Linked DNA regions of Homo sapiens: all the other regions are linked to region 1. Evidence: promoter capture Hi-C in 16 types of primary human blood cells and fetal thymus (Javierre and others, 2016). All regions are on one chromosome and are shown on one strand. The core of a region is centred on a gene start or on the middle of the fragment in contact, and the rest is flanking DNA. Distances in the headings are between cores, read along the strand shown. Region 1 holds the start of SH2D4A (SH2 domain containing 4A). Region 2 has its middle 14 kb from the start of INTS10. Region 3 overlaps PSD3 (pleckstrin and Sec7 domain containing 3). Region 4 overlaps PSD3 (pleckstrin and Sec7 domain containing 3). Region 5 overlaps PSD3 (pleckstrin and Sec7 domain containing 3). Region 6 overlaps PSD3 (pleckstrin and Sec7 domain containing 3). Region 7 holds the start of PSD3 (pleckstrin and Sec7 domain containing 3).

The links. Contacts are between HindIII fragments. The CHiCAGO score rates a contact against its expected background, and 5 or more counts as called.
Region 2: a contact is called between a fragment that was not itself captured here and the fragment with the promoter of SH2D4A in region 1, in 2 of 17 cell types (naive CD4 T cells and non-activated CD4 T cells). The highest score is 5.6, in naive CD4 T cells.
Region 3: a fragment that was not itself captured here is called in contact with the fragment with the promoter of SH2D4A in region 1 in 3 of 17 cell types (total B cells, megakaryocytes and M1 macrophages); the score reaches 5.9 in total B cells.
Region 4: a fragment that was not itself captured here is called in contact with the fragment with the promoter of SH2D4A in region 1 in 5 of 17 cell types (M1 macrophages, megakaryocytes, monocytes and 2 more); the score reaches 7.8 in M1 macrophages.
Region 5: a fragment that was not itself captured here is called in contact with the fragment with the promoter of SH2D4A in region 1 in 2 of 17 cell types (M0 macrophages and M1 macrophages); the score reaches 5.2 in M0 macrophages.
Region 6: a contact is called between a fragment that was not itself captured here and the fragment with the promoter of SH2D4A in region 1, in 1 of 17 cell types (M0 macrophages). The highest score is 5.2, in M0 macrophages.
Region 7: a fragment that was not itself captured here is called in contact with the fragment with the promoter of SH2D4A in region 1 in 1 of 17 cell types (M1 macrophages); the score reaches 5.0 in M1 macrophages.

Annotation. Positions count from the first base shown.
Region 1 is chr8:19,312,228-19,315,278 of GRCh38, reverse strand. It overlaps SH2D4A (SH2 domain containing 4A), which reads right to left and starts at 1,586. Exons shown (of 10, transcript NM_022071.4): 1 at 1,456-1,586. The HindIII fragment of the contact is 8,347 bases long and covers 1-3,051 here.
Region 2 is chr8:19,802,383-19,805,433 of GRCh38, reverse strand. No RefSeq gene overlaps it. Among named protein-coding and RNA genes, the nearest start is that of INTS10, 14 kb to the left of the region's middle. The HindIII fragment of the contact is 1,694 bases long and covers 779-2,472 here.
Region 3 is chr8:18,876,831-18,879,881 of GRCh38, reverse strand. All of the region lies in intron 2 of PSD3 (pleckstrin and Sec7 domain containing 3), which reads left to right. Among named protein-coding and RNA genes, the nearest start is that of PSD3, 140 kb to the left of the region's middle. The HindIII fragment of the contact is 157 bases long and covers 1,348-1,504 here.
Region 4 is chr8:18,896,258-18,899,308 of GRCh38, reverse strand. The region is part of intron 2 of PSD3 (pleckstrin and Sec7 domain containing 3); the gene reads left to right. Among named protein-coding and RNA genes, the nearest start is that of PSD3, 120 kb to the left of the region's middle. The HindIII fragment of the contact is 453 bases long and covers 1,402-1,854 here.
Region 5 is chr8:18,940,582-18,943,632 of GRCh38, reverse strand. The region is part of intron 1 of PSD3 (pleckstrin and Sec7 domain containing 3); the gene reads left to right. Among named protein-coding and RNA genes, the nearest start is that of PSD3, 72 kb to the left of the region's middle. RefSeq lists an enhancer at 2,862-3,051. The HindIII fragment of the contact is 3,601 bases long and covers 1-3,051 here.
Region 6 is chr8:18,964,946-18,967,996 of GRCh38, reverse strand. All of the region lies in intron 1 of PSD3 (pleckstrin and Sec7 domain containing 3), which reads left to right. Among named protein-coding and RNA genes, the nearest start is that of PSD3, 47 kb to the left of the region's middle. The HindIII fragment of the contact is 1,279 bases long and covers 922-2,200 here.
Region 7 is chr8:19,012,100-19,015,150 of GRCh38, reverse strand. PSD3 (pleckstrin and Sec7 domain containing 3) reads left to right here and starts at 1,448. Exons shown (of 16, transcript NM_015310.4): 1 at 1,448-1,588. The coding sequence starts at 1,568. It overlaps LOC124901898 (a long non-coding RNA gene), which reads right to left and starts at 1,148. Exons shown (of 2, transcript XR_007060840.1): 1 at 955-1,148. RefSeq lists silencers at 1,305-1,394, 1,465-1,564. The HindIII fragment of the contact is 2,141 bases long and covers 438-2,578 here.

The DNA.
Region 1 (3,051 bases), core at 337-2,836:
CTATAGTCCCACCTACTTGGGAGGTTGAGGTGGGGGGATCTCTTGAGTTGGAGAGTTTGAGGCTACAGTGAGCCGAGATCGCACCACTGCACCACAGCCTGGGTGACAGAAGGAGACCCTGTCTCAAAAATTAAAAACATTAGGTCGGTGCAAAAGTTATTGTGTTTTACATGGCCAAAAAAAAAGTAACTGCGGTTTTTTTTACGTAAAAACCGCAATTACTTTTGCACCGACCTAATAAAATAAAAAATAAATAAAAGTATTGTGGTATGGACAGTGTAACTATAACATTAACAATACAGTTTGAATTCTAATTCTTTTAAAACAGCCAGCTCTGTGGTCCAACTTTGTTTTCTTATTGAAACTTTATCTTATTCATCTACCAGCAAAAGGGCTGTTTTTGAGGATGAAACAAATTACCAGAGATGACAGCAGTTTGTAAATATATACTATTCTTCAGAAATTTGAGATTACTGTACACACAGATTTAGTATACATAGAGAATTCCACTCATATGCCAAATCTATGCCCCTGTATGCTTTCCACTTATTTATTCACTATTTTAAAATAATCGTACCCAAGTCGTTGTTTCTATTAAACCAGCAATCAAACGAAAGCCTTTGGAGCGATGAGGAGCATCTGTTTGAAAGGGGGAGGTGCCACGCTTGCTGCTTCTCTAAGCTCCCTGGGAAGGGAGAGACAACTCAGAAAACCTACAAACTGTAGCTCCTTCCGGTGCCCGCGTGACCCCCGAGTCCAGGAGCGGGCAGGGGCGCCGCTTGGCTGAGCGCACTGGGCACCCGGTCTGGGTCTGGGCCAGCCCCGCCGCTGCAGCCCGAGGGAGGCGGCGCTGCACTGGCCTCCGCGCGCTCCCAGACCCCACGTGGGGGCGCCCCTGGGTGCCGGTGCGCGGGGAACGTGCTGCGGGGGTGCTGCGCCAGCTGCCACCGTTTCCCGGGACTTCCCTCCTGGAAGATTTCCATGCGCAAGTCGAGGACGTGCTCCTGCTAGGAGTCTAGAAACTCTAGGCCAGCCCGGACCCTCCCGGGGCCTGCACTCCCCGCGGGTGGAAGCACGCGCCGCGTGTCCCTGCCGGATTCCAGAACTTCCCCGAAGGTCCTCAGCCCCGGCAGACCCTCTCCCTCGAAGTTCCCCCGCCACCCCCTGCAAGCCCCCAGGCCCCGGGGACCGCCGCTCACCTAGCCAGCGGCTCCAGACACCGGACACCGGACACCGGACACCGGACACCCGCCGCGGCCGCTCTCGCCGCCCAACCCCGCACCTGAGCCCGCCCCGGGCGCCGCGAAGGGGTGGAGGCGGGGGTGAGGCTTCCGCCCGCCCGCTCTGGCCCCTGCGCCTCCCATGCACCCATGCAACCTCCGAGGAAATTCCCTTCCCCCTACTCCCACCCCACGCACACTCTCCCCAAAGCCTCGCCCCACCCCCAGCACCTACCAGTGCTGGGCGCCCCTGGGCAGGGTGGCTCGATCACCCGCCACATCCACTTGGCCGCCAGAAGCCGTCGGGGAAGGGAGGGAGGGAAAGGCAGAGGCGTCCCAAGCGGCGCAGGCGGGCTGAGCAAATACTCCGGCCCGGACGCAAAACAGCTCTTGTAGCCGTCCCGCCCGCGCCGCCCCGCCGCGCCCACATGCCGGGGTGACTGGCGGGGCGCAATCGCGGCCCCACCCGGGCGCCTGGAGGCTCTCCAGGGCCACTCGTCGGCGAGGCTGCGTGGCCTGCGCATCTCGGGCCGCCTGGCCCGCGCGCTGTCCCCGAGCTGCGGTAGTCCGGGGTAGGCTTGTCCTCTCCTCTCTTAGTTCATGAGACAGGGATCTGCAGTCTGTGATCTCTTGGGGACTGCAGGACTTAGATTAAATCTGCAGATCTGGGCCTTTCCACGTTTCAGAGCTCGGGGTTCCTTGCTAGGTGTAGGGTAGGAGGGTGCGCAGGCCCCACTTGTTCACTCTGCTTGGGTGCTGCAGGCCAAGGCGACTCTGGAGCTTTTTTTTTTTTTCTTTTGTTGACATTAAGTAAATGATCAAACTCTTTGGCACTTGTCGGTACACGTGTGGCTTTGTAGGACAAGATGAAGGAAGGAAAAGGCTGGAAGGAAGGAGACCGCAGTCAACACAGACAGGTGGAGAAAATGAAAGAAAACTGGGGGAAAAGTTAAGATGCTGAAAGGAGTCTTGAGGATTGCAACAAGAACAGGTTGGCTTGGTGCCTGAAGACGTCAGGGAGGAGCTGGCAGTCCACAGTTAGAGGAAATCTTGGAGGAAAATTGAGCAGAAGCACAGTGGAAAGGCATTTCCACTGGAGGGCATTTTCCATCCTAGAGGAGCATGTGGAAGAAAACCGCCTGCTTTGGTGAACCCCAGATTTTGTGTATTGGGAGAGATGTAATAAACAGTAAACACCAGTAGTCCTCTCCACGGACTACCTGACCTCTTTAGGAGCCTGACCTGCTGGATTCAAACACAAAATGGCATTTCCCTGCCTCTCCAAACTGCAGAAGCTGTGCAGAGTTACATCAAGCCTCGGGGCAGGCGGCATTGTCAGGAAATAAGACCCAGCTATTTAGGAACAATTCCAGGAATCCCATCAGGGAGGAATTTCTGGTGTAAGGCTTAGTTCCTACTGCAGTTTAAATGATAGCATATGGGGTGCTTTAGGCTGGAGTGGGATTGGCCCCTGGAAAGCTGCTATGACGAGGTCAGAATGAATCCTAGCCCTGCATGGATGCATCAGTTGAACCATACAGGGTGGTTTATCAGTTAGGAAAAATCCCACAGGACACTGTGACAGCCTACCTTCCTCACACCCAGTCTCTCTCCAGGTCCTGGCAAGTCCTTCCTTATAACAGCTTTATCACTGTGCTACTAACCTCTGTACCTCACTTTCCTCCTCTAGATAAAGAGTGTCTGCCTCGGTAAGTTGTCAAGAGGGTTAAATGAGATGCTACATGCAAAGAGATTAGAAGAGCTCTTGGCATGTGGTGAGTGTTCAAACACATTCACTCAGATCAGTTCATATCACATTAAGGTACTGGAA
Region 2 (3,051 bases), core at 376-2,875, 490 kb before region 1:
TCCTAAAGTGCTGGAATTACAAGCATGAACTACTGCGCCCAGCTGGAAGTGGATATTCTTCTACATAGCCACAATGTAATTATCAATGTCAGTAAATTTAACCTTAATAAAATAGTTTCACCCATCTACCATCTCTATTCCAATATTTTAATTCACCAATAATGTCTTTTACAGCATTTCCTCCTCTAGTGGAGTCCAGTTGTGGATCAGGTGTTACATTCACTTTTCCTTTAGTGTTTTTTCCACAGCCTCTTTTTTTTTTTGTCTTTTATGACTTCGATATTTTTGAAGAATGTAGTTTGACTTCATTTTCTTTTAAATAGAACGTTCTTCATTCTGGGCGTGTTCAATCCTTCCTCATTTTTAGATTCATTTGTGTATTCCTGGCTGGAATACCACATATTTGATATGTCCTTCTTAGGGTATCATATCTGAAGGCATAAAATGTCTATTTGCCCGTCATTGACAACATTTATTTTGTTCCCTTGTTCAAGGTGCTGTCTAATTTCTCCATTCTATAATTACTATTTTTTCCCTGGCAACACTAAGCAAACTACGGGAACACATTCTAAGTTCATACAAATAATCTGTCCTAGAATTTATCTCTTTTTATATGCCTGGAGACAATGAAGGATAATGAGGTGAATCTTGTAGAATAGGTATCCCAACCCTCAGCCACTTACAGCCTAGCAGCAGAGATAAGAAGTTCCTAGGAGGCCATGATAGAAGCTTTCTGATTTCAACCCATGCCTTGGTTGAAAGTTCAAGACACCAAGCTTATCTTTTTCAAAGCTGCCAATCTACTTATTGTTTGTCATACTGATTAAATAAGATTTCCCATGTCTTTTCTGCCCACTGTACTCCATTTCATGCCATGGCAGGCCATAAATTGAAATTATGCCTTTTTAACTTCAATTACATGGAAACACTCTGCTCTTATATGGCTCCTGCTCCACCACCTTTCACTAATTATATCTTTGATTTCACTAAATGTATCTTTATACATCGTATACTCCAAAACATAGACTAATGATTTTTTATGCTTTTGTCTTTTAAATCACGTGGAAATAAAAATTGGTGTTGCAAACTAAAGTTATAATAATACTGGCTTTACAATTAAACCAGATATTTATCTTTACCAGAGATCTTTATTTCTTTATGTGGCTTCAAGTTACTGTCTTTTGTTCTTTCACTTTAATCTCAAGTATTACCTTTGGCATTTATTTCAGGGCATGTCTAATGGTAGTGAATGCCCTCAGTTTTTGTTTATCTGGGAATGTCTTAATTTCTCCCTCATTTTTGAAGGACAGTTTTGCCTGACGTGGAATTCTTGTTGACACTTATTTTTCTTTCAACACTTTGAATGTACCAACCCACTACCTTCGGTTTCCAAGGTTTTCTGATGACAAATCTGTTGGTCATTTTATTGAGAATTACTTGTATTGGATGAATTATTTATTTTTTGATGCTTTTGAGATTTTTTTTATCTTTGGCTTTTGACAGATTATAATGCATTTTTGTATAGGTCTCTGAGTTTATCTTACTTGGAGTTAGTTGAACTTTTTAGATTTGTGGATTCACATACAACATCAAAGTTTTTGGCCATTATTTCTTGAAATAATCTCTCTCCGCCTTTCTCTGTTTCTCTCTTCTATTTCTGTAATTTCCACAATGCATATGCTTGTCCACCTGATGTATTTCCTCAAGTTCCTTGGGCTCTGTTCACTTTTCTTCCGTTTTTTTCTTACTTTTCCTCAGAGGCAATAATTCAATTCTCCTACATTCAAGTTTGTTGATTCTTTCTTCTGCCTGCTCTAGTCTGCCTTTAAATTCATCTAGTGAATTTTCTATTTGAGTTATAATTTTCAGTTGCAGAATTTCTTTTTTGTTCTGCTTTGATTTTTGTCTCTTCATTGATATTCCATACATATTTCTGACTTTGTCCACATCTTCCTTTAGCTCTTTGAGCATCTTTAAGACAGCTGTTTTATTAAAGTGTTTTTCTGGTAAGTCCACCATCTGAACTTCCTCAGGGATGGTTTCAGTCTATTTGTTTTACCTTTGAATAGGCAACACTTTCTAGTTTCTTTTTGTGTCTTTTAATGTTTTCATTAAAAACTGCATATTTGGATTTTATAATTTGGTAACTCTGGAAAACAGATTTTTCTCCTTTTTGCTTTTCTTCTGTTTGTTTTTGTTGGCTGTTTTTAAATTTTTTTTTTCAGTGGGGTATTACCCTCTGTGTGAGATCAGCCTGAGATGTAAACTGAAGGTCTTCTCACATCTTTTCTGAGCCTATGTCTCAGGCATGTTTAGTGAGTTTCTATATTCCCACAAATATGCAGTTGCTTTTGAATGTCCAATCTTAAATGCCTGGCCTCCAAAGGTAGAAAAAGGGGGAAATAAATGAGAAAAAAAAGGCATTGTCTTTGTCAAAGAAAATTTATGGAAGGCCATTATTTGGACTAAGCTTCTGCTCTAGTTCCCAGCAGACCCGGCCAAACCTAAATGGACTCACTCATGCTAAGTGCCACATAATCAAACTGAACTTTGAAAAAGGCCATTTTCCCAAGAAACAGAAGATTCAGAGCAATTAGTTGTACTGAGCCAGCATAATAAGAAAGTTCCTTCTAAACCCTGTAAGGAAAATCATCTGGAAATTGATGCAGGATTTTTCCTTGACCCCTTTGCAGGACTTGCAACAGGGGTGCCCCATTTACTCAGGCTTCCACACTCAACTCCTTGTGGGAGGGAGCACATGAGCGAATGAGTGTAGGAACTGGCTGGCTGCTTTGGCGCTGGCAGGAGCAAACTCCAGGCAGGCCTGCAGCAGCATCCAGATGGGGGTGCCTGTGACCCCAAAACCCCAGAGGGTATGTTACAGTGCTCTCTTAGCTTCACCATCTGAGGACAGCAGAGTGCTATCAGCTCAGTGGTCCCTTTGCCTCATTGCATGGGGTGGCGGCCCTCCACCAGTGAGAGCAAAGGGCTAGTGTGAGCCTTTTTGGGTACTGCACTTGGTGGGTCCCGAACTCTTGTCCAGTACCCAAG
Region 3 (3,051 bases), core at 177-2,676, 440 kb after region 1:
TCACGCCGTAATCCCAGCACTTTGGGAGGCCAAGGGTGGGAGGATCACTTGAGCCCAGGAGTTCGAGACCAGTCTGGGCAACATAGGGAAACCCCGTCTCTACAAAAAAATAAAAATAAAAAAATTAGCCGGGTGAGATGGCACATGCCTGTGGTTCCAGCTACTCCAGAGGCTGAGGCTGGAGGATCACTTAAGCACCGGAGGAGGCTGAGCTGCAGTGAGCTATGATGGTGCCACTGCACCCCAGCTGGGTGTCAGAGTGAGACCCTATCTCAGAAAAGAAAAAAAAAGCAATGATGAATGATGATCTCTCACGGTTCAGTGTCCCTGAGTTTCTCCCAGGCTTTTACTCCTGAGAGACAGAAGACTAGAAATTTAGTCCTGACTTAGAGTTCTAAAACAATACTTTATTGAACATCATTTTATTGACCTTGGTCAGGTCCTTTCGCCTCTCAGAACATTTGTCTCCCCCCGTCTGTTCCAGTTCTTAGAACAGTAAACACAGACCACGAGAAACTACTCCAGTATTTAATAGTAAAGCAAGCAATCTGTCACGCAGGGCTTTGCCTTGCCCTGTCTCCCTCTTATCTGACCTCGTTTTCTTTGACCGGTTGCCAAGTTGTTATATCAGACATCACAAGCACTTGCCCACAATTGTTGAATTTGCTGCCCCTTTCTGAGGGACATTTCAATGAAAACTATTAAAAATGGGGTGAAGGAATTATCAGAATTCTCTGAGGCCCCTTGATATCTTTTGGTCACTTCTCTTGGGGCCAGTGTTCAGTTGTGTGTGCGTGTGTGTGTGTGTGTGTGTGTGTGTGTGTGTGTGTTTGTGTGTGTGTGTTTGTTTGTTTGTTTTTTCCAGAGGGCAGTTGAAACTGTTAAAGCAAAGCGGGCTCCCAAGTGTCTAAGTTTAACTTTTCTTCCCTTTGTTGAATGGATTTCACTGTTATATGTTTTGGTGCAGTTTATAAATACAGCTTCAGCAGTCACTATGGTCAATTTTCTTAAAACACTTCATGATGGGTTAAACATTATTGCCTTTGGAAGCTTTAAGGCGTGAGTAACATTATGCTTATTTGTTTTGTATATTTACACTATATATACCATACCGCAAAAGTCTTTTTGACATTTATTTATACAGAGGAGAGGACTTTTTTCAAGAGTTGGTGAGCAAGGGAAGGCTTAATTAAGGACAGGGGATTTGGTTTAGGTGTTGAAATGTGAAAATAATCTGATTTATGTTGAAATGAGAAGAAAAAGTATGTCAGGTAGAGAAAGGAAGTTGAACAAAGGCAAAGGAGCGTGTGTATGTCTATGCATTCAGAATGTATGTATGCTTAAGCTTATTTCCAGTGTGTATTAGGATTAGAACAAATCTTTTCAGGGTATTCATGGGCTGCCTCCTACTTCAGTGTAGAGGCAATGGTATAACATGTGAAAGGGGGTTGACAGAGACTTGATTAGAAAGATGGATTGGGATTGTAAAGGAAGAAGTAAAGCTTTTATCCACAGATGACATGATCTGGTATGTAGAATCCTGAGGAATCTACAAATATGTTATTATATGCTCCAAGTTAAGCAAGGTTGTAGGATATAAGATTCACATACAGCAACAAATTGAATTTCTATGCATGGCTACTGAATGATCTAAAGAAATTTGAAAAGCAATATCAAAAGAAATAGAATCTTAGGGGAATAAATTGAAAATCTGTACATTTAAAATTATAAAAAAAAATGGCTAAAAGAAATTAAAGAAGATTAAGTAAGTGAAAAGACAGCCCATGGTCATGGAACGAAAGATGTAATAGTAATACTGTTAAGAAGCCAGTACTGTATAGATTCATTGCAGCCCCTATCAAAATCACAGCTTTCTGACGAGTTGATTCTAAAAGTAATGGGAAATTCAAGGGGCCAAGAGTGACCAAAACAACCTGAAAAAGGAAGAACAAGGTTGGAGGAGACTCACACTTCCAGATTTCACTTACTGCAAAGCTACAATAGTGAAGACAGTGTTATTCTGGCATAAAGATAGGCATCTAGCCAGGTGTGGTGCTACATGCCTGTAATCCTGACACTGGAAGGCTGAGGCGGGAGGGATCACTTGAGCCTAGGAGTTCAAGACCAGCCTGGGCAATGTAGTGAGACCCTGTCTCTTAAAAAAAATGAAAAATTGTCCAGGCATGGTGGTGCATGCGTATAGCCCCAGCTACTCGGAAGTCTGAGGTGGGAGGATCGCTTGAGTCCAGGAGGTCAACACTGCAGTGAACTGTGATTGCACCACCGTACTCCAGCCAGGGCGACAGAGTGAGATCCTGTCAAAAAGAAAAAAAAAAAAAAAAGATAGGCATCTAGCTCAATGGACTTGAGAGTCCAGAAATAAACCTTTGCATATATATTAATATATGTATATGTTTGATTTTTGACATGGGCACCAAGGCTTTTTGATGGGTAAAGAATAGTCTTTTCAACAGATAGCTCTGGGACAACTGGATATCCACATACAAAATAATGAAGTTGGATTTCTACTTCACATCATGTACGAAAATGAATTGAAAGTGGATGAGAGAGCTAAATGTAATAGCAAATACTGCAAAACTCTTAGAAGACAACGTAAAAGTAATCTTTGTGACGTTGGTTTAGACAATGATTTGCTACATATGATACAAAAAGCACAAGAGACCAAAGGAAAAACGGATAATTTGGATTTCAGCAAAAGTAAAAACGTTTGTGCTTCAGAAGACACTGTCAATTAAGTGAAAAATGACCACTCACAGAATGGTAGAAAACATTTGCAAAGTGTACATCTAATAAAGAACTTATGTCCAGAATATATAAAGAACTCTTAGAACTCAGTAATAAAAAGACAAATAATTCAGCCATCAAATGGGCATGTCTCTAAAAAAGATGCACAAATGGCCAAAAAACACATGACAAGGTGCTCAACATAATTAGTCATTAGGGAAATGCAAATGAGAATCACAGTGAGATACCACTTCTAGGATGTCTGTAACAATAAACAGACAATAATAGAATCTTAGACATTGCTTG
Region 4 (3,051 bases), core at 379-2,878, 420 kb after region 1:
CAAGATATTGTAGATATGGGAAAAAAGGTATGAGGGGTGGTGAGGAAGGATTTCAAGATGTAGATATCAGAGAAATTCAAGAGCAAATAGGTATCACACCAGAGAAGTTAACAGAAGATGAATTGCTGGAGATGAGTGCTTCAAAATTAGTGCCAGATGATGAGGAAAAAGACGTGGAAGAAGCAGTTCTAGAAAACAAATTGACATGAGATAATCTGGCAGAATGGTTCCCATGATTCCAGACTGTTTTTGACTTCTTTTATGATGTTGACCCTTCTATCATATGGGCACTGAAACTAAAGCAAACAGTGGAAGAAGGATTGGTACTGTATAGAAGAAACATTTTTGGAGAAATGAAAAAGTTAAAAAGACAGAAACTATGATTATGTCTGTACATTTACACTGAATGTGCCTGCCTCTCTTGCTTCCTGTTCTTCTTCCTCTACCTTTTCTGCCTCTCCCATCCTTGAGATGAGGACAACTCCTTTCTCCTCCTCTTCAGCTTATTCAATGAGAAATTGAGGATGAAGACCTTTATGATGATTCATTTCCACTTAATGAATAGTAAATATATTTTCTCTTCTTCATCATTTTCTTAGTAACATTTTCTTTTCTCTAGTTTATTATAAAAATAAAGTATATAATACATACAACATGCAAAATATGTGTCCATTCCCTATTTATATTATCAGTAAGACTTCTAGTCAATAGTAGGCTAATATGTTAGTAGCTAAGTTTTTGGAGAGTCAAAAGTTATGTGGATTTTCAACTGCATGGTGGTGGTGCTCAGTGCCCCTAAATCCCATCTTATTCAAAGGTCAACTGTAGACTGAATGTGAAAGTATGGAAAAAGACATTCCATGCAAACAGAACCCAAAAGCAAGCAAATGTAGTCATTCCTATATCAGATAAAACAGACTTTAAGTAAACTCATGTAAAAAGAGACAAAGAAGGTCATTATACAGTGATAACAGGATCAATTCAGCAAGCAGATATAACACTTATAAACGTATATGTACCTAATACTGGAGCACCCAGGTAATCAAAGCAAATATTATTAGATTTAAATTGCACTTAAACAGGACAGTAATAGTTGGGCACTTAAACACCCCTCTAAGCATCAGATAGATCATCTATACAGAAAACAAACAAAGCAACATTGGATTTAAACTGCACTTTAATCAAACTCTCAGCAAGTTAGGTAAGAAGGAACATACCTCGACACAGTCAAAGCCGTATATGAGAAAACCATAGCCAACATTATACTGAACTGGGGAAAGCTGCAAACTTTTCCTCTAGCTCTGGAACAAGACAAGAATGACCACTTTCTCCATTTTTTTTCAGGAGTACTAGAAGTTTTAGCCAGATAAATGATCTTATATAAATAAAACTATGAAAGCTTCAAAAAATAAAAACCTCTGAACTGACCGTCTAATTCAGTAAAGTTGCAGGATACAAAATCAACTTAGAAAAATCAGTGGTGTTTCTATATACCAACATTCAAATAGCAGAAAAAGAAAGTAAGAAAGCAATTGCAGGTACAGTAGCTACAAAAAGTAAAATACCTAGGGAAAAATTTAACCAAGGAAATGAAATGTCTCTGCAAGGAAAACTATAAAACACTGATGTAAGAAATTGCAGCAGGCATATGCAAAAATAAAAACACATTGCATTTTCATGAATTGGGAGAATTAATATGGTAAAAATGGCCATACTACAAAAAGCAGTATACTCATTCAGTGCATTCCCTATCAAAGTACCAGTGTCATTCATCACAGAAATAGAAAAAACAGTCCTAAAATTTGCCTAGAACCACACAATACCCTGGATAGCCAAAGCAAGAAGAACAAAGCTTGAGACATCACACTACCGGACTCCAAAATATACTGCAAAACCATAGTAACCAAATAGCATAGTACTGTCATAAAAACAGATACACAGACCAATGGAACAGAATATAGAACCCAGAAAAATAAATCTCATCTTTATAGCCGACTCATTTTCAACAAAGGCACCAAGAACATTCACTGGGAAAAGGACAGTCTCTTCAATAAGCAGACACATCACGTCTCAAAAGAAGACATATAGATGGCCAACAGGTATATGAAAAAATACTGAACATCAGGGAAATGCAAATCAAAACCATAATGAGATATTATATCAACCTAGCTAGAATGGCTGTTATCAAAAAGACAAAACATAGGCCGGGCACGGTGGCTCACGCCTGTAATCCCAGCACTTTGGGAGGCTCAGGTGGGCGGATCACCTGAGGTCAGGAGTTCGAGACCAGCCTCAACATGGAGAAACCCTGTCTCTACTAAAAATACAAAATTAGCCGAGCATGGTGGTGCATGCCTGTAATCCCAGCTACTCGGGAGGCTGAGGTAGGAGAATTGCTTGAACCTGGGAGGCGGAGGTTGTGGTGAGCCGAGATCATGCCATTGCACTCCAGCCTGGGCAACAAGAGCAAAACTCTGTCTCAAAACAAAACAAAACAAAAAAAGACAAAACATAAAAAAATGCTAGTGGGATTAAGAGAAAAGGGAAACTCTTACACATTGTAGGTGGGAATGTAAATTAGTAAACCCATTAAGGAGGCCAGGCATGGTGGTGCACGCCTGTAATTCCAACACTTTGGGAGGCCGAGGTGGGCAGATGGCTTGAGCTCAGGAGTTCAAGACCAGCCTGGGCAATCTGGTGAAACCTCATCTCTACAAAAAATACAAAAATTAGCTGAGGTGGTGGTGTGTGCCTGTAGTCCCTGCTACTTGGGAGGCTGAGGTGGGAGAATCACTTGATCCCAGGGGGTCAAGGCTGCAGCAAGCCAAGATTGCACCAGTGCACTGCAGCCTGAACGACAGAGCGAGACCCTGTCTCAAAAATAAAATAAAAGTATAGCCACTAAGGAAAAACAGTATGGAAGTTGCTCAAAAACTAAAAATAGAGCTCTCATATTATGCAGCAATCCTACCACTTGGTATATATCCAGAAAAAAGGAAATCAGTATGTTGAAGATCTATCTGCACTCCCATGTTTATTGCAATACTATTC
Region 5 (3,051 bases), core at 175-2,674, 370 kb after region 1:
TGTGAATAGTCCTCTGTTATCTAAGCCACTCCCTTTTCCTTCACTTCAAGAGTTTACCAGGCTCCCTCATTCCCTTGTCCTTTGGATGTCTTGTGGGGTGCATTGAATTGTTCTTTTCCTTCTCCAGGTTTTCCTGTGGTCTCCTGTGTCAGTTATCACTAGATCATTTGCTTCAAAAATGTCATTTTTCTTATTCTATTTCCTGTGGGTTTGTGCTTTTATAAGAAGAATCTCTTTACTGTGCTTTTAGTAGCTTTGGATGAGGGCAAATGCAAATGTGTATATTTATTTTGCCATCTTACCCAGAAATAAACAACAGTGATTTTTTAAAACTTTTTCTTTTTCCTTTTTACACTGGACGTCTCCCTTCCCCATAAACCTGTTATAGAACTTGAATCTTTAAAACAGAAATGGAACTACTGTGGTTGCAAAAGTGGTGTGGGGTTGAGTGAACAAGAGTCTTTTTCACCATGCCTCCTTTGTTGATCTTTGCAGCCACCCTGTCTCTATACCCAGGCAGCTTCTTTGAATCTTAGGATTCTCATGTACACAGCTGGGAAAACCACTGGATTAGAGTATTATACATCGCTGTTTTTGGCTAGAGTGAAAGATTCACCTCCTTTTACAACTTTGCATGTCTTCAAACCCACATTCCTCCTGTGTGGGCTGGTGCAAGGATATACCTTCTCATCCAGACCCTTTTGCTTATTAAAAGGGAATAGCAGGGGCTTGTTACCTGTCATCCTGGAGAATTTTCCTTTTGCCCTCTAATCTGTAGCCTTTCCTAAAGTAATAGTTAACTAGGCTGCTGTAATAAAGTACCATAAACAGGGCACTGAAACAACAGAAATTAATTTTCTTACAGTTCTAGAGAGTAGAAATTCGAGATCAAAGTTGGAAGGGTTGCTTTCTTCTGAGGCCTCTCTCTTTGTCTTGCAGATGGCCACCTTCTCCCTGTGTCTTCACATGGTCTTTTCTCAGTGTGTGCCTGTCGTCATCTTTTCATATGAAGACATTAGTCATGTTAAGTTAGGACACACTCTACTGATTTCATTTTAACCTAATTATCTCTTTAAAGACCTTATCTCCAAATACAGTTACATTTGAGGTACTGGGGGTTAGGACTTCAACATATAAATCTTGGGGGGACACAATTCAGCCCATAACGCCTAACTGTTGCCTTTTGCAGCATTAGCCTTGAGCTTCTTGTCCCTGTCTGCACTTAAGTTGTGCGTGGCTCCCTGCTTCCATGGGCCTGGCTTCTGCTGGGCAATGGGAGCAGATAGGATTGAGCAGGATCAAGTGCAGAGTGTGACTGTTGGAACCAAGTGTTAGTTTTGAGTGAGTCATGAAATATTATTTTATAGTCTTTAATTTAGTGTTTAATTTTTTCTTTATAATACTCACTGGCTGACTTGGAGGCTTTCAGATTCTCTGAAAATCATACTGAAGTTGAAATAATTAAGGAAATGAAGGAGCATGCCACCTTTCTCAAACTCTACTCTTAACCTTTTTCTCCCTCCTCACTCCTCTAGCCCCATCATTCCCTTCCCAAATCAACTGAAAACCACTTTTACTTCTAAAATTTGCCTGTAGCTTTCTGCTTCGTCTTTTTGATTTTTTTACAGCTAAACAATTAATTAAAAGAATCATTCTAGGCTGGGTGTGGCAGCTCACACCTGTTGTAATCCCAGCACTTTGGGAGGCCGAGGCGGGCGGATCACCTGAGGTCAGGAGTTTGAGACTAGCCTGGCCAGCATGGTGAAACCCTGTCTCTACTAAAAATACAAAAATTAGCCAGGCATGGTGATGCGTGCTTGTAATCCCAGCTACTCTGGAGGCTGAGGCAGGAGAATCACTTGAACCCGGGAGGCGGAGGTTGCAGTGAGCCAAGATTGTACCATTGCACTCCAGCCTGGGTGACAGAGTGAGAATCTGTCATCTCAAAAAAAAAAAAAAAAAAAAAAGTCATTCTACATCAGTAGTGCTTATCTTGTGTCTAAAATTGGTAATTATAATCGGTAATGTTGCGAGTTGGATAACGTGAATGTAATTCTTTGTAAATGTGAAAAGTCATATCAAATGTAAGGTTGAGATTTTGTTTGTCCCATCCATTTAATGGTGGGCTTGCATCTTTAAATACAGGGTGTGTTTTGGGGATCATGCCATTGTAATTTTATCACAAGGAAAAGATGTTACTGCTCCCGTAGTGAAGTGTCTGTGAAGCTGGTTCAGAAGTGTGAAGAATCATTGTGCTTCAGAATTCAAGGAGAGCTGAGAGATAAATTTGAGTAACACTTTTTATCAATAGGGAAGCTGAAGCCCAAACTTGAAGCATTTGTGTGAGACTGCGTGGTACTATCGAGCCGAGATTTAAGTCTGATCACCTGACCATCAGTCCAGCTGCTAATGTTTCATGTTCCATACTTCTTAAGGAGATTTATGTTCGTAAAAACAACTGTGATGAAGCAAAAGAATATATTTTATTCAGTTAGTAATGCCAAAGGAAATAGTAGTCTGAATTCTGTGGGTCTGTCATTAATCTGATTGTTTTAACAATACAGTTTTCAAAGACCTGCATTAATTATTGGAGAGATCAGTAAAAATTTATAAGCCTTGCTATGGGAAGAGGATGTATCAATAGGGGCTCACAGCTTCAAGAATAACTAATTGTTTGGTAAGAATAACCCCCCAGTGCAGGTGGAGCTGAGAAACCAAAGGAGAAGGCAGACAGGTCCAGACTGTTGTTATAGGGTGTTTTATTGGGGAACTGACAGACAGAAGCGTGGTTTTTGGCAACTGCAAGACGGATAGATCTCCATGCCATTATACCCCAGACCCAGGGATTATATCTAGGGAAGGGGCACACATGCTTCGGAGGGAATAGGTAGGAATTTGATGTAAGGGCAGGATTTACTGTAAGTATGTGCCATTACTCAAGAAACAGTAGATAAATTGGAAATCTCAGAGGCATTCCCAGAACTGGGGTTAATCAGAAGTCAACATGGCATGTTAGTTTCCAAGATAGAGTTACTTTAGCCTCCACACAAA
Region 6 (3,051 bases), core at 312-2,811, 350 kb after region 1:
GTTTTGGTGGTTTAGGTTTGGATCTTTTGCTAGCCTTTTGTAGAACTTGGATATTGGAAGCAATTCTCCTCGCAGCTCCCAGGAATATGTGAATGGGCCCTCGATACCCAATTCTAATTCTGAGCACTTGGAAAAAGTCTGTGTTGGGAGAAGCCTGTATCTTCCGTCACCTGATTTTCCTGATAACCTGTGTGTATCTTTCACATGCCTCCATTTCTGGTTACCAACTTTATCATGTGACTCTTTTGGCAGCTAGTAGATATTTTTAGTAAATATAAAGGAATTCCTCCTACCAACATCTGAGGTCATTTGCCTTTCCTTGATTTTCTAATTTTCTGGTTGAAATAGTAAAGAGAACCCTACCCTGATGGTCAAAGGTTCTAAGATGTTTTGTGGACCAGCTCATAAAGGCCTTCAGCAGGGCAAGTCTGGTATCTGCTGGGCTTTCTGGAAATAGTTAAGTGAGTCAATAGGTAGCTTTGATGTTGTCAGGTTTAATATGGAAATAGCATTTTACTACTAGTAATCTTAAGATTTTTTAATAGAAAATCCTGGCCAGGCGCGGTGGCTCACGCCTGTAATCCCAGCACTTTGGGAGTGGATCACCTTAGATCGGGAGTTTGAGACCAGCCTGACCAGCATGGAGAAGCCCCGTCTCTACTAAAAATACAAAATTAGCCGGGCATGGTGGTGCACACCTGTAATCCCAGCTATTCGGGAGGCAGAAGCGGGAGAATCACTTGAACCTGGGAGGCAGGGGTTGCCGTGAGCCAAGATCATGCCATTGCACTCCAGCCTGGGCAACGAGAGTGAAACTCCGTCTCAAAAAAAAAAAATAAATAAAGAAAAAAGAAAATCCTAAGTGGGATTCCATGCTGATAGGTCTTACAGCCCACGTGAAAAGAAAGCCAAGTAAAAGCTTTTATGGCAGGAAATGTTCCTGTCTGCCTGGAATGGTTTGGACCAGGCAAGCAGATTGGAATTGTTTTTCCTCTTAAGTTGCTTTGTTCTGTTTTTGGACATGTTTTCCCTGAACTACACTTAATAGCAAAGTGCACCTACCATCCCTTCTCCCCCTACCCAAGCCTTGCTTGTGAGTATCTCCTAAAGCAGCATGCTTTTAGGTATCATTTATTTTAAGACTAATTTGAAAATTTTATGCCAATTTTGCATTTCATTTAAAAATATATTTAAATATCAAAATCAGATTTTAAATGACCATCTATTCAAATTGAGCCCCAAGAAGATGTGCCCGTTGGTCCGGAAACGTTGCGTCCTCCTGGGGCACACTGGTTTGTGACCCTGGGGATCTGAGGAGTCCCCTGTTTGAGAAGAACAGTTGTAGGGCATAACTGGAAGCCAGGAGGTCTAGGGAAGTATTTTTAAAAATGACTCTATTTGTGTTTTTTGGTTTTTTTTTTTTTTTTTAAGACAGTCTCTCTCTGTTGCCCAGGCCGGAGTTCAGTGGTGCAATCTCAGCTCACTGCAACCTCCACCTCCCAGGTTCAAGTAATTCTCCTACCTCAGCCTTGCGAGTAGTTGGGATTACAGGCGTGCACCACCACACCCAGCTAATTTTTGTATTTTTAGTAGAGATGGGGATTTCGCAGTGTTGGCCAGGCTGTTCTTGAACTGCTGACCTCAAGTGATTCACCTGCCTCGGCCTCCCAAAGTGCTGGAATTACAGGCCTGAGCCACCGCACCTGGCCTGAAAAATGACTCTGTTTGACAGCCTAGTATAGGTGTGGAAACTCTGTGAGAAGTGGAATGGCAGTCCACCTGGAATGTATGTGGTATACAGCTGCTTAATTAAGAAATCCATCTTAGTGAGCAGCATTTTCTTTCAAATAGCCTGGTATAGTCAACTCTTTACTGAGATTCAAGTCGACTGTTTTCTCTGACTGAGTGCTAGCTGTAATCCTGGGAAAAGTTATACAGCACATTGGTGATTTGTTTTTTCCATCTTATATGGGAGATTAAAATATTTGTTGCCTACTCCCCTCATCAGGTGTTGTGAGGATTAATGAGATCATTTTAGTAATGTGCCTTAAACTCACAAGAGGAAATGGGCACGGAAAAGCCCAAACCCCGGGTGTTATATTACCAGGAGCTTAACTCAGGCCTGGCATTTACGCTGCTGTTATGTGTCCATTTATTTTGTTCACGTGTTGCTTTTCGCATTACAATTCTGTATTAAGCTTCAGATCCATCTCATGGGTGTGAAAATATCCACGTGTCAAAATCAAGAGTGGGCCTGTTGGCTTCACATGTTTTCACTTGCCATCCATCTCCAGAATCTTGCAAGCTTGACCTACAGCTTGTTGGATTGGACACTTTTTATGTACACCACTTACTGCATTTTGCAGCTTCGAGTCTATCTGTGGGGACTCAGCTTTTTCAATAACTCTAGGCTGTAATTTTTGAGAGCATTGTTTAAACCTTGTGCTCTACTTGAGTAGTAAATGGTCACAGTGGCAACCGGGCATGGGTCCTTTCTCACTAGCGTGTGTGATGCTTGCTGTCACTGTCACCCCCGCCGAACGGGGTAATGGGATGAGAGAACAAGGCCTTACCAGCACAGCCTGTGAATGGCTCCATAGAGGGGACGCTGGTTCCTCAAGGGCGCAACCTATTCCCTTGATTTCAGCTGGAGGAACTTCTCTTGGGCCTTGGCATGATGTGCTCATACATCTTTAGGTAGCCAAAACCTGACATATAACTGAGTGTGAAAGTCAGTTGCCAGCATCTTCAGAAGGACATTATTTCTGAATGACCAGTGAATGAGGTTATTGTCATAGAAAACAGCAAAGTTTAAAATAATGTTGCTATTTGGGATGGCAGAATTGGTGGGGGAGGAAATGAGATGGGAGAAATATAATTTTAAACTATAAAAATTCCAGTGAAGTATAATGCTTAATTGTTAGCATATTCTAAGCAATGAGTTAGCCGCATTTAAAAATAGCTTTTTAACATGAATGAACCTTTTTATGAGCCGAGATTCAGTGAAGAATAAGTTGGTCATGCAAATGGTGTTTTAATAGTTTATATTAA
Region 7 (3,051 bases), core at 259-2,758, 300 kb after region 1:
GCCCAGGAAAGACCCGCCCCCATAATTCAATCACCTCCCACAAGGTTCCTCCCACACACCTGGGAACTGCGGGACTTACAATTCAAGATGAGATTTGGGTGGGGATACAGCCAAACCATATCAATGCCCAAGTGACTGGGGTGCTTCCAAACCTACACAGCTGCTCACACTGCTGCTCTGGCAGGGGGAGCATGAGCTGCGGACGTTTTTCTGAAGTTGGAGTGAATTTGTATAAAGGCATACACTCCCTCATGCTGGCTCCTCTGGTGGGTGTCCAAGGCTTCCTTTGATAGATGCAGATGGGGCAGCCAAGGCAAAGTAGGTGACTTATGTGGCCTTGGTGCATCTCAGCTATGCTCACCGGGCAGCCCATGCTGACATGGTGGGCGAGATCGTGGGGCCACCAGGGAACCTGACTCCACTCCCATCTCTAAGCTTGGCCAAGTCAGTCACTTCTCGTTATTGGGGCGTCTTCTACCTGTCACTTGAAAAAGACTGTTCTTTGGAACAATAAGGCGGTAACACATACACAGGACCACCCTGTAGCCGGCCACACAGGTTCCGCCTCCAGGTGCTTGGATCTACTTAACGGACCTCCCAGGGGGAAAGATTTGCGGTCTCTCCGTCCCTCTACCAGGGGAGGGCGCCGTTCCAGCCCTTGCCTCTGCGGCACAGATCAAAGGACGGAGGAAAAAAGGTGCGGGTCCGGGGCACTAATGTTCGAAAATGCAGTTTTAAGTGACCTCTCCCCGCGCACGCACTGTCGGTGGGGGCAGTCCCGAGGCCAGGCTGCGGGGCGCCTGGGGGGACTCGCCTCAGGGGGAAATGGCCCTTTCAGGGCTCGACGGGTCCCCGGGACTAAACGCTCCGGCCGCGGATCGGTGCCGGGGGAGCCCGGTCAGAGAGGCCGGGACCCCGAGGGACGCCTAGGTGCGTGTCCCGAAGCCCGCGTACCTCCAGCCCCGGCGAGACGGCGCCCAACTCGCGGCTCCAGTCACACGGCCCTTCCTGAGAGGAAACACCAGGGAAAGCACCTCTCACTTTTCTCAGGGTGGGAAAACTGTGAAGGAAGAAGACAAAGCAACAGGCAGGTTTTCGCTCGCGGGCTGGAGGCTGGGCCCAGGGCGGGCGCGCGGCTGCGGGAGGCAGCGGACGGTCCGGGCCGCTCGAGGGCTGCACTGCGAGGGTCTGGATCGCCTCCAGCCTCCCCCGGAGGCCCCGCCCCTGCCCTGGAGACCCCGCCCCCGCCTCGGAGGCCCAGCCACCTCCCCCCTCCCCGAGGCGTCGGCCCCGCCTCTCCGCCCTCCGCCCTCCGCCCCCGGGGCCCGCCACCGCCGGCCCGCCTGCGCCGCCTTCGCTTTGACGTTACTGGGGGCCGGGCGGGCGGCTGCCGCGGGCTCGCAGCCTCGCCAGCCTCCGCCAGGGTGCGCGCGGGCCGCCGCCTCTCGGCAGTCCCGGGAGCTCAACAAAGAGCACGCGGCGCTGGCCGCCGGCACTCGCGCCCTGAGGCTGCGGCCCCGGAGCGCCCGGCGGCGGTTTCGGCGCGCGGCCGGGCTGGCGATGGAAGATGGAAGGAAGGAGCGCAGCGGTGAGCTCCGGGGCCGGGGCGCGGGCGCGGGGTGCGCACGCGGCGCCGCTGTTCGACGTGGGGTTTGTGTTGCTTTGTCGCCGCTCTGTCCCCCAGGATCCCGGGGCCACCTGGGTTTGTGCTGTCTGGATAGGTGCAGGGTGCGATTTTTCTCTTCGCGCTTGCTTGCTTTGTGTTTTTTAGGAGCCCAGCAGGGTCAACTTTGTGGTGTTAAGGTTTAGGGGTTTTAGTTCATACCTCGGCTTTGAAAACCTCAGACTTTGGAGAAAAGCTATCAAAAGAAGGCAACATGAAAGAGGACCTCGTATGCCGATCTTTCTTTGCCCGGTCAGCTTGTATTTAGGGACTATCACGTTTCTGTCAGAAAGAAAGAAAAAAAGACTAAACTAAACAAACTTGAATTGAGCGAGCAAACGGACAAGGGAAGATTATTCGGTGCAATTCCCAGGAGCTTTTACAGATGTTTAAGTCATTCTGTTTTACATGCATTTAACTTTATCCGCCGTTTTCAGCTTTCCGTTCTGGCGAATGATGTTCTGAATTTTTTTTTTAAACACATTAACACCGATTAGAGGACGTGGGTTTAGAATGTTGTTGGTGACCTAAATAATAAATGTTTCGTTTTGCCATTCCCCTCGATGTCAAAGGATGTTAAACGCCCACTAGGCAGAGGATGGAATGGGCACCACGATTTCATTTTCTAGACACTGGTTCTCCCGATAGCGGGATCCAGGATTTCCGCTCCAGAATAACTCTTGAGTGGGTCCAGGTGTTGGTGTAGGGAAGACGGAGATCTGGAAAATTACTGTAAGTGGGATTCTGGCAACAAATGCCTCAATGCGTTCGTTGTAATTGAGTATGTGCAAAGGATTTTGCAAAGCCCGGTAGCTAGGTAAGTAGGATAGGATTTCTGCTTTCAAGAAGCGTGCTTGAGAGCTTGCCTGGGAGAGACTTATGCGTAGGCTACCATGGAGGATCTCAGAGGAAGCTTCTGGCCTCCGGGCTTGGAAGTTCTCAGAGAGGAGCTGGCAGTTATGCTGGACCTTGAAAGGGAGGGGTTGATTGGATTTTTGTGAGATGTGAGGGAAAGGATGTCCCCTGCTAAAGGAAAGGGAATTCACTTTCTACCCTTTTCCAAGAAATGATCCTTTCTTTTCTGAGAGTATTTACAAACCAAGAGGTTTTCTTTTCAAAAAGTCATGAAATTCCTCTTCAGCAGTTAAAAGTGCAACATGCTCAACATCACCAGTTAAGCAAATGCAAAATAAATTAGCACCTTTTCAACCAGTTTTTAGTGGCTGGCTGGATGTCCTTCCACAACCTTTTTATATCCATCCACAAGTGATTTGTCTTGTAAGATATTTCATTAATAGAAGCTTTTTGTACTAAAAGGAGTAGAGTGGTATCAAGAAAGGGACTTGGATCTGTAGGTAGGACACCTAGCTTAGAGGCTTTGCCACTGA